3 separate regions of the Homo sapiens genome follow, and regions 1 and 3 are each linked to region 2. Evidence: promoter capture Hi-C in human tissues and cell types (Jung and others, 2019). All regions are on one chromosome and are shown on one strand. The core of a region is centred on a gene start or on the middle of the fragment in contact, and the rest is flanking DNA. Distances in the headings are between cores, read along the strand shown.

What was found. Contacts are between HindIII fragments. The study calls those that stand out against the background at their distance.
Region 1: a contact is called between a fragment that was not itself captured here and the fragment with the promoter of DNMT3L in region 2, in 2 of the 25 tissues and cell types used here (dorsolateral prefrontal cortex and spleen).
Region 3: a fragment that was not itself captured here is called in contact with the fragment with the promoter of DNMT3L in region 2 in 1 of the 25 tissues and cell types used here (lymphoblastoid cells).

The regions. Positions count from the first base shown.
Region 1 is chr21:44,500,691-44,504,150 of GRCh38, forward strand. All of the region lies in intron 11 of TSPEAR (thrombospondin type laminin G domain and EAR repeats), which reads right to left. Among named protein-coding and RNA genes, the nearest start is that of TSPEAR-AS1, 3.6 kb to the right of the region's middle. RefSeq lists an enhancer at 2,472-2,991. The HindIII fragment of the contact is 6,330 bases long and covers 1-3,460 here.
Region 2 is chr21:44,260,571-44,264,162 of GRCh38, forward strand. It overlaps DNMT3L (DNA methyltransferase 3 like), which reads right to left and starts at 1,327. Exons shown (of 12, transcript NM_175867.3): 1 at 1,170-1,327; 2 at 584-696; 3 at 225-269. The coding sequence starts at 689. RefSeq lists an enhancer at 1,042-1,601. The HindIII fragment of the contact is 12,940 bases long and covers 1-3,592 here.
Region 3 is chr21:44,082,418-44,086,084 of GRCh38, forward strand. TRAPPC10 (trafficking protein particle complex subunit 10) reads left to right here. Exons shown (of 23, transcript NM_003274.5): 14 at 371-885; 15 at 1,705-1,846. Among named protein-coding and RNA genes, the nearest start is that of PWP2, 23 kb to the right of the region's middle. The HindIII fragment of the contact is 7,855 bases long and covers 1-3,667 here.

The DNA of each region.
Region 1 (3,460 bases), core at 138-2,637, 240 kb after region 2:
GAACCTGGCAGGGTTTTGCTTTGAGGACAAATCCCTTATAATGTTTATTCACACTGTTCATCTTTTCTTCTAAAAATTCATATTTATATCTTTTGTCCATTTTTCCAAATTTAAAGACACATTTTTTATTAGTTTGTAAGGGTTGGTTTTCTGTCGTGTGTGTGGTAAAGAGTTTGTCTTTTGCTTTTGAATAGGATGTCTGTTTCCATAGAAAGCTTTTAACACAGGTGGTCGACCCAGTGCCTTTCCTTCTGGGCTTGTCTTCTTCATAGAACCCTGAGGTTATACAACTGCCTTCAGCTTTTCTTCTTTTTCACATTTGGACTTTTAATCCATATAACATTTATTTTTGTGTACAATGTGAAGTGGGGGTAAGCTTTGTTTTCTTCCAGATTACATGAAGCTAATCTCCCGAATCATATGGAGTTATCAAGTAAAACCCATCCTTTTCTCATTGCCTTCAAATATAGCATTTATGGCCGGGCGGGGTGGCTTACGCCTATAATCTCAGCACTTTGGGAGGCTGAGGCGGGCAGATCACTTGAGGTCAGGAGTTCGAGAACAGCCTGGCCAACATAGTGAAACCCCATCTCTATTAAAAATACAAAAATTAGCCAGGCATGGGCTAGGCGCAGTGGCTCATGCCTGTAATCCCAGCACTTTGGGAGGCCGAGGCGGGCAGATCACAAGGTCAGGAGATCGAGACCATCCTGGCTAACACAGTGAAACCCCATCTCTACTAAAAAATACAAAACAATTAGCCAGGTGTGGTGGCAGGTGCCTGTAGTCCCAGCTACTCAGGAGGCTGAAGCAAGAGAATGGCGTGAACCCAGGAGGCGGAGCTTGCAGTGTGCCGAGACTGGGCCACTGCACTCCAGCTTGGGCGACAAAGCGAGACTCCATCTCCAAAAAGAAAAAATAAAATTAGCCAGGCATGGTTGGCCCATGCCTGTGGTCCCAGCGACTAGGGAGGCTGAGGTGGGAGGATTGCTTGAGCCTGGGAATTTCAGCCTGCAATGAGCTGAGGTTATGCCACTGCACTTCAGCCTGGGCTACAGAGTGAGACCCTGTCCCCCCCAAAAAATAAATAAGAAGGAGATATTATTAAAAAGGTACCCAGGCCCAGATGGCTTTATAACTGAATTTAACCCAGCTGTCAGAAATGAGAGAAAAAATCCTATTCTTCAGACTATCCCAGTCCACAGGTGCAGTTAGAAAGCCCTGCAGTGTGTATTTACTGTTAGGCTTCATTTTAAACTGGATAAAGTTAAGTCCCCAAAAGAAAACCACCGAGCAATCTAATTTCCTATTATAGATGCTAAAAGCTTAAAGACAGGCAATTGGAAGCCAGTGGCTTATTCAATAATTCTGCATCATCACCAAGTGGCATCGGGTCTAATAACGCGAGGAGATGTCTCACTATAAATCATGACATCAACAGTAAACATAGTGGACCGCACCACGCACTCACAGATGCCAAAGGAGACCTCAGCCCTGGCCCGGATGGCCCACAGCCCATCAAACGGCCATGCTCAGATGTGCTCGTTAAATTAGAGCAAGGTGGGACAGCTGCCACTTCTGCCGCCATCCAAGATTGTTCTGGAATCTTTAGCTAGGGAAGCAAGCTACATAATCAATTAGAACACTAGAAATCAAGGGGAAATGTTCTTTATTCTCAGAGGTAATTACATTCCTAAGTCCCCTGAGAATCTTTTTAAGAAAAGCTATTAGAACTGATTGGTTAGGGGGCGAGAAAATGATTGTCATGATGAGCAGCTGCAAATGAAAGTTAAAAAGCCAACCCCATTCGTTAAACGTACGATACTTGGAAAACTCCTGGAAATAAATGAGAACACCACAGTGTCTATGAGAGAAAAATTAAATATCAACAACTCCCATGTTAGGATGTCCACACGCCGCATCCCTGACAGAATCCAAAGGCAGAAGCACCAGCACTCGTGGGTTGTGGCTACACCCGGGGCAGGGCCCCAGCTCAGATCCCACACGGGTGCAGCCAGCGCCGGGCCATCCACTGGGCCCAGCCAATCTCGGAAATGACACCTGACTTGGGACTCGCTGTGAGCCGGTGGCACCTGCGAGAGAAGGTGAGCCCCCGGGGGGAAGCAAGGCTCTGGGAGGAGGCCGGCCTCGGTGAGCCCTTGGGGGGAAGCAAGGCTCTGGGAGGAGGCCGGCCTCGGTGAGCCCTCGGGGAAGTAAGGCGCTGGGAGGAAGCTGGCCTCAGTGAGCCCTCGGGGAAGCAAGGCTCTGGGAGGAAGCTGGCCTCGGTGAGCCCACAGTGGGGAAGCAAGGTGCTGGGAGGAAGCCGGCCTCGGTGAGCCCTCGGGGGGAAGCAAGGCTCTGGGAGGAAGCTGGCCTCGGTGAGCCCTCAGGGGGAAGCAAGACTCTGGGAGGAGGCCGGCCTCGGTGAGTCCTCGGGGGGAAGCAAGGCTCTGGGAGGAGGCCGGCCTCGGTGAGCCCTTGGGTGGAAGCCGGCCTTGGTGAGCCCACAGGGGGGAAGCAAGGCGCTGGGAGGAGGCCGGCCTTGGTGAGCCCACGGGGGGAAGCAGTGTGCTGGGAGGAAGCTGGCCTCGGTGAGCCCTCGGGGGGAAGCAAGGCTCTGGGAGGAGGCCGGCCTTGGTGAGCCCTCGGGGGGAAGCAAGGCTCTGGGAGGAAGCCGGCCTCGGTGAGCCCTCGGCGGGAAGCAAGGCTCTGGGAGGAGGCCGGAGTTGGTGAGCCCTCGGGGGGAAGCAAGGCTCTGGGAGGAAGCCGGCCTCGGTGAGCCCTCGGGGGGAAGAAAGGCTCTGGGAGGAGGCCGGCCTTGGTGAGCCCTTGGGGGGAAGCCGGCCTTGGTGAGCCCACAGTGGGGAAGCAATGTGCTGGGAGGAAGCTGGCCTCGGTGAGCCCTCAGGGGGAAGCAAGGCGCTGGGAGGAGGCCGGCCTTGGTGAGCCCTTGGGGGGAAGCCGGCCTTGGTGAGCCCACAGCGGGGAAGCAAGGCTCTGGGAGGAAGCCGGCCTCGGTGAGCCCTCGGCGGGAAGCAAGGCTCTGGGAGGAGGCCGGAGTTGGTGAGCCCTCGGGGGGAAGCAAGGCTCTGGGAGGAAGCTGGCCTCGGTGAGCCCTCGGGGGGAAGCAAGGCGCTGGGAGGAGGCCGGCCTTGGTGAGCCCTTGGGGGGAAGCCGGCCTTGGTGAGCCCACAGGGGGGAAGCAATGTGCTGGGAGGAAGCTGGCCTCGGTGAGCCCTCGGCGGGAAGCAAGGCTCTGGGAGGAGGCCGGAGTTGGTGAGCCCTCGGCGGGGAAGCAAGGCTCTGGGAGGAAGCCGGCCTCGGTGAGCCCTCAGCAGGAAGCAAGGCTCTGGGAGGAAGTTGGCCTCGGTGAGCCCTTGGGGGGAAGCTGGCCTTGGTGAGCCCACAGTGGGGAAGCAAGGCTCTGGGAGGAAGCCGGCCTCAGTGAGCCCACAGTGGG
Region 2 (3,592 bases), core at 77-2,576:
GCCTCCTGAGTAGCTGGGACTACAGGTGCATGCCACCATGCCTGGTTAATTTTTATTTTTATTTTTTTGTAGAGACAGAGTCTCACTATGTTGCCTAGGCTGGTCTCAAACTCCTGGGCTCAAATGATCCTCCCACATTGGTCTCCCAAAGTGCTGGGATTATAGGTGTGAGCCACTGTGCCCCGTCTCTTTTGTCTGGTGTGGGCCAGTATGCAAACACTCACCTTCTATATTTCGCTGGTTAGCCTTGACTTCATATGCAATAAGATCTGGAAAGGAAGATAAGAAGTAGCCCCTTTCTTCTTCCTCTGATCTCTTAATTTAAATTCGGCCAGGAAGTGAGCATCACAATTCGTTTTCCAAAGTCACAGGAGCCTGAGGTCCCCTGCCATCCCGCCCTCACACCTTATCTTGGTGTGTTAAACGCCCATACCTGGGGGAAGACTGTGGGTGGGGAACCTCCTGCCCCAGCCCGGGTGCCTGAATAATGCATGAATACTCCAGAAGCCTGGAACTCCAGACCTCATCCAGGCCTGGGATCAGCATCCTAAGTGACTGGTCCAATAAGCAGATGAGCCCTCACCTCTGCCTGTCCCGGGTGAAACGGAGCTTGAGAGCTCACTGGATCCCACCAAAATCACGTCCATGCTGGGCTCGGCCTCTGGGTCCAGGGCTGGGATGGCCGCCATGGGGATGCTGTGTCAGGACACACGGACACAGATGTGAGAAAGCCGTCAGCCCCTGCTCAGATCCCTGATGCACCCCAGCACGGGAAGCAGCTTGCTGAGCAGACCTTGACTAGTTCAGGCCACCTGAACCCCCGCGGTGACACCCACCTGCCCAACCCAGGGATGAGGGGCAGGACAGCCAAGGCCAGTGCCAGCCCTGAGAGGGGCTCAAGGGTCCCCTGAGGCGTGCCCCCCACCTGCCTGGCCCTGTTACAACATGGAAGATGGGGCAAAAAGGGGAGGGCAGGGCCCTCATGAGGACCTGGGGCCAATGGCCGCTGCAGCCCCTGCTTTCCTCTGGGCCCAGCCTTCGACCCCTCAGGGACTCCCATGCCCCAGCCTCCTACAGTGTCCCTCAGGCCCAGCAGGGACCCCTGGGGATGGTCTTGGCCAGCCGCACCCTTGAAGGCAGCATGGTCAGGGAGTAGGAAAGAGACTCACAGGGCTGCTGCCACGGCTCCGGGTACAGCCAGCTGGTGGGTTCAAGGTTCCAGTGGTCCGGGGCTTCCAGGCTCAGGGTCCCCGGGGAGGACTGGGCCATGGAACGAGGGACGGCGCAGGCAAAGAATGAGCTGGAAGGATCCAGGCCCACCTGGGACAGCGGGTGGCCAGAGGTCACCAGGCTATGGGGGCAAAGAATCTGGGCGTGTCCCGCGGGGGCGGGGAGGGGCGGGGGCGGGGCAGCCCTTCAGTGCCGGTTTGCAGTGGGAGGGGCGAGGAGCTGCGGGGGGTCACTTGGGGTGGGGAGCTAGGAAGCTGGGGGACGGGCAGGGAAAGGGAACCCTCAGGTGGGGAGGGTTAAGAGCTCAGTGGGGCTGGGGGATTGGGGTTCAGAGGATGGGGCCCTCAGGGTGGAGTGAGGGGTGGGGTTTGGGGACCTCAGTGGGGAGTGGGGTTCAGGGGAGGGGTGGAGATGGGAGGACTGGGGATGGGGCAGATGAGGGGGGTTTCAGTAGAGGGGGGCCCTTGGGGTGGGGTGGGGGATAGGGGTGGCTGTGGGGTAGGGGCAGGGCGCTCAGAGGTGGGGTTTAGGAAGGTCATAGGGGTGGGCTTCAGGGCAAGGGTGAAGAAAGGGATGAGGGTGGAGGGTGGAGGGGTGGAGGGGTGGAGGGTGGAGGGTGGAGGGTGGAGGTAGGGCAGGGCGGGGGGTTAGGTGGAGTTGGCCCCCTGGGTGGAGATGGGTGAGGATTAGTGGAGGTGGCCCTCAGGGCAGGGTGGGTGGGTGGAGGGCGGGGCTTAGGGAGATCTGTTGGGGGATTAGGGAGTGGGGGTGGGGGTGGATGCTGAGTTGGAGATGGGGGCCTTCAGGGGAGGTGGTCCTTTGGCGGGATGGGGGTGATGATAGGGTGAGGGTGGGCACTCCGGGGCAGGGCTCAGTGGCGGGGGTCGGGGCTCAGGGCAAGGGTAGAGACGGGGTGAAAGTAGGAATGGGGGTGTGAGGCCGAGGATGGGGGTTTCAGGGGAGGTGGCCTTTAGGGCAGGATAGGGGTGAGAATGGGGTGGGGATGGGCCTCAGGGATCTCAGGGTCGGTTGGGATGGGAGTGGGGGTGGGGGTAGATGGTGAGGAGGAGATGGGGGTGTTCAGGGGAGGTGGTCCTCTGGCGGGATAGAGGGAGGGGCGTTCAGGAGCCGGGCTTGGGAGCTCAGTCTGGAGCCCCAGGTTTGGGGGGCAGCTGTGGGGGAGAGAAGGAAACAGGGAAGGCCCTGGAGGATGGGGTAAGGGGTGTTGGGTGGGGAATGTCAGGGCAGGTGGGGGGTTGGGGAGCTGGGAGGGGTAGGTTCAGGGTGGGGGTGGAACGTGGAAGCAGGGAAGGGAGCAGGAAGGTGGGGTGGGCAGAGGGGCAGTGTGGGAGGTGCGGGGTGGGTTGGGAAGGGGGACTTTGTTGGAGGGAGGTTAGGGGCTTCAGAGCAGGGGGCGGAGGACCGCCGGGCAGGGCTGGAGCCACAGGACAATTGTGCTGGTCGAAAGTGGGAGAAGACCCTTGCGGGAGGTAACCCCCCTGAAGTGTGGGCTGGGCCTGGTGACTTCCTTCTGCAAGTACTGCATGAGGGGTGACCACACAGGGGCAGCCTGATGACCCCTTGGCCCCTGGCCCAGGCCAGCGTCTCGGGGAGGATTCGCCTGGGTGGGTGCCCCGCACCGGGGCTTTCTCCCCCCACCCACAGCCCAGCCTCTCCAGGAGTGAACTGGGTCGGAGCAGAGGCGGCCCAGTGCCTGAGCCCTCCTCACTGGGGCAGTCAGGCCGCCCAGCGGGAGAGTCTGAAAAACAGCGGGGCAGGGGGCGGGGGGACCCTGAGGCACTGCGACAATGAAGTGTCACATGGGATCCCGGGACAGAGAGGGGCGGTAGGGAGTGGGAAATCTGAATAAAATGTGGCTCCTTGGCTCTAAGTTGGTGTGTCTGCAGGTTTGTTCATGTAACCACAGTGTCCATGGGGGCCTGAGGGCTGGGTGGGGGTTGCGGCAGTTCTGGACTAGCGCCTCAAGGTTTGTATAACTTTAAAGCTGTTCTAACATAGTTACTTTTTTTAATGAAAAAAAGTGAAGGGAGAGAATACTGAGGATGACAGTGAGATCACTTCCCTGTGTTTGAGTAAAATGATCTTGTTTTCTCCTCCTTTTATTCCAAAGAGCTTTGTTTTTCAGGAGCTCACGGGATTGAAAGTGATTAGAAGGAGACAGCGGGAGCAGCAGGCCCATCTGTCCCCTGACCCCAGCCCCACACCCAACCTCCCCTGCCCTGCAGGGCTGTTCCCACCAGCACAAGTGGAAAGGGGAGAATTCCTGGGGGCTGGTTTTGGCTCCAAGGAGGGGCAGTTTTCTTTTTTCTTTTTCTTTTTTTTTTTTTTTTTGAGATGGAAT
Region 3 (3,667 bases), core at 549-3,048, 180 kb before region 2:
AAGTAGGTGAGAAAATATTGGAATCCCTTGGAAATAGCTGTAGAAATTGGACTATTTACAAATTGTCGTTTGAAATTGAGAGGTAGTTGACCTGTATTTCTCTTAGGTTTGTCAAAGCAGACTTGAGAAGGTTAATTTCTGTACATTTTATGATTTCTAGGCATTACGTAGGTATTTGCTAATATTCTGCTTTTGATACAATAGCCTTTGGGGGGTGTGAAGATGGCAGGAGGCTGGGCTCAGCTGCTGTGCCCATCACTGCTGCTTGCTTCAGTCTGCTCTCGGTGATCTTACTGTGTCCGCGGCCTGCTGCTGCTTACTGTCAGGAAGTGTGACTTGGGGAGTCACTTACGATAATGTCTATTTACAGGTCATAAGATAGTGCTACCCATGCATTCCTTTGCACAACTGCGAGATCTCCATTTTGATCCCTCCAATGCCGTGGTCCACGTGGGCGGCGTTTTGTGCGTTGAGATAACCATGTACAGCCAGATGCCTGTGCCTGTTCACGTGGAGCAGATTGTGGTCAATGTCCACTTCAGCATTGAGAAAAACAGCTACCGGAAGACTGCGGAGTGGCTTACCAAGCACAAGACGTCCAATGGGATCATTAACTTTCCACCCGAGACCGCACCTTTCCCTGTATCCCAAAACAGTTTGCCCGCGCTGGAGTTGTATGAAATGTTTGAGAGAAGCCCATCTGATAACTCCTTGAACACGACTGGGATTATCTGCAGAAACGTCCACATGCTCCTGAGAAGGCAGGAGAGCAGCTCCTCTCTAGAGATGCCCTCAGGGGTGGCTCTGGAGGAGGGTGCCCACGTGCTGAGGTGCAGCCACGTGACCCTGGAACCAGGGGCCAACCAGATAACATTCAGGACTCAGGTATGCGTTCAGGGTGGGAACTTGACTTTCAAGTTTGTAAAGCAGGGCCGTGGAGCTTACAAGAACTGTCTGGAGTGTGCTGTGAATTGAGTAGAGTCCTTTGTTCTCCTAACCCTGTTTTTGTCTCTGTCCTTATACAAAAATACACTGATGTTTTCTTTCGTGTTTTATACAATTTTCTGACATTTGATAAATTCTGAGTGAAGTTCTTAACGTAGATATTTGTTCTTAGATTAAGTTAGCTTTTTAACTCATTGGATTATTGGATTCAGTTAGCTTTCCCCCCTGCATATGAAAATACACACCCTCATTTGTTAAAATGAGCTTTCAAAGAAGGTGGTACACTTTCCCACTCAAACTTATTTTCCTTTTGTGGCTGGCTGGGTGTCAAAACTGGTGTTTCTCACCCACTCTAACATAAAGTTTTCTCTGACACAGGATATCCTGTAAGTTCCACTAACTCAACAGGATTTGGCCTGTGGAAAGTACAGCTATTTGTCACATTTTTTAGTCTAGGGCAGGGCTTAAATCTCGTGCTGAATGTCTCTACAATGCCACAAATACAGTTTAGATAAGTTGAAAATACCTTATTAAAGTTAAATTTAAGCATCAGTTACTCAGAAAATCACGAATTGAGAGATTCTGAGGGCCTTGTGAAGAGCCCAAGCTTAGAGGTTTAGGCACAAGAGCAGGGGGTACAAGAGGGAAAGAAGTACAGGCCTTTCTGGAGTTCAGAGAGACCGCTGCACCGCGCTACCGCAGGAAGCTAACTGCAAAACTGGGTGACGTGGTTTCAAATGCCTGATTCTTTGACTCTAGGCCAAGGAACCTGGAACGTATACACTCAGGCAGCTGTGCGCCTCGGTGGGCTCCGTGTGGTTCGTCCTCCCTCACATCTACCCCATTGTGCAGTACGACGTGTACTCACAGGAGCCCCAGCTGCACGTGGAGCCGCTGGCTGGTGAGTGGGGTCCCCAGCCTTTGAGGAGGCGTGCTGCTGGGGCAGTTCTGAGGAGACCTGCTGAGATGCCAGGCTTCTCATAAGTTTTAGCTGTGTCTGCCTTTAAGAGATATTTTGGGTAACATAATGGAAATTTTGCCTGGGAACTAGCTGACTGCCTCTTTTGTTTATCTGAATGTTTGCTTTCCTGTAATTGCTTTTTCATGTTTAATAAACATGGTGTATCTGAAAATAAGAAACACAGAAGAATTAGCTCTGAGAGTGGAAAAAAGAAACTCAAGGTATTTTTTTCTATTGGCTCACTCAACCTAATGGTCAATGCAGAGGACTTCTGGGCCCAAATGTGCAGGGATTTCCCCCTGCCAGCAAGCAAGCAGTCGGTCCTGCAATTCAGTTCTGACCCTGTCTACTGGAGCTGGCGTCAGACACCACAGGGTGAGGGCTCAGTCCCCAAGACAGTCCCCCCCTTCCCATGCCAGCCACCAGCCCAGGGTTCTTTTGCTTGTGCTCCTGACCAACTAGCTAGAAATCAGGGCTCTCACAACCCCCTTTCTGGGTTTGATGAATTTGTTAGAACAGCTCACAGAACTCAGGGAAACAGGTTGACTGGATTATTATAAGGGATATAGATGAAGAAGTGTGGAGGGTGAGGTATGGGGAAAGGGGTGCAGAGCTTCCACGCCCTCCCTGGGCGCCACCCTCCAGGAACCTCCATGTGTTCAGCTGCCTGAAAGCTCTCCAGACCCTGTCCTTTGGTTTTTATGGAAGTGACATTACACAGGCATGATCGATTACACCACTGGCCACTGATGAGCAACTCGACCTTCAGCCCCTCTTTCCTCCCTGGAGGTTGGGTGCCACTGCTGAAAGGCCCGACCCTCTAATCCTGCCCTGGTCATTCTGGTGACCAGTCCTCATCTTGAAGCTACCTTGGAGCTGCCAGCCTCCAATCAACTCATTAGCCTACAAAAAGACATCACTTTGGAGATTCTAAGGAATTTGGGAGCTAGTATGCCTGGAAATGGGGTTGAAAACTACATGTGTATTTTACAGTGTCACATTAGGCCAAGAAGCAGCTAATGTCTACCACAGGGTTTCATAAATATGTATATAATTTCCTGCTTAGAAGTACGTTTCAAATGCTAAACACTAGATTTAGTTAGGATCTATACTCAGATCCCAGCACTTTGGGAGGCCAAGGCTTTGAGACCAGCATGGGTAAGCCAGTCGGGGCAGGATGACAAAACCCCATCTCTGCAAAATAAAAAAATGAAGTAAATTAGCTGGGTGTAGTCGTGCGCCACGGCCTCTAGTCCTAGCTACAGGCTGGAGCCCCAGCTGAGGCTCCTGCCTCAGCCTCCTGAGCCCAGGAGTTTGAGGCCTCAGGGAGCTGTGATTGCGCCACTGTTCTCCAGCGTGGGTGACAGAACAAAACTCCATCTCTTAAAAAAAAAAAAAGTTTTCCTTTGAAAGGGTTGATTAAACTTGTCCGTCTGGCATGGCATTTGAGAAATTCAAAGCTATTGTCCTTTCTGATAAGTTCTAAAATTGGAAGGAGTTGCTATAAACAAATGATTGAAGAACATGTGGCAGCTGAACAAGAGTGAGTGAATGTCTCCTTTGTTCGGGCTAGCAACGATTTATTTATTTGCCTGTTTCTTCTACGTGGAAAAAAATCACAAAGGGCATTTTTCTGTTATTCCCCCATTCCCCCTATTTTTCTGCATTTGTGCCTCTTGTGTGGCCACCAGCAAAGGCTGTCAGATGTGGGACACAGCAGTCAGTCTCTCCAGTGATTCTTCCATTGGAACATTGTGTAGA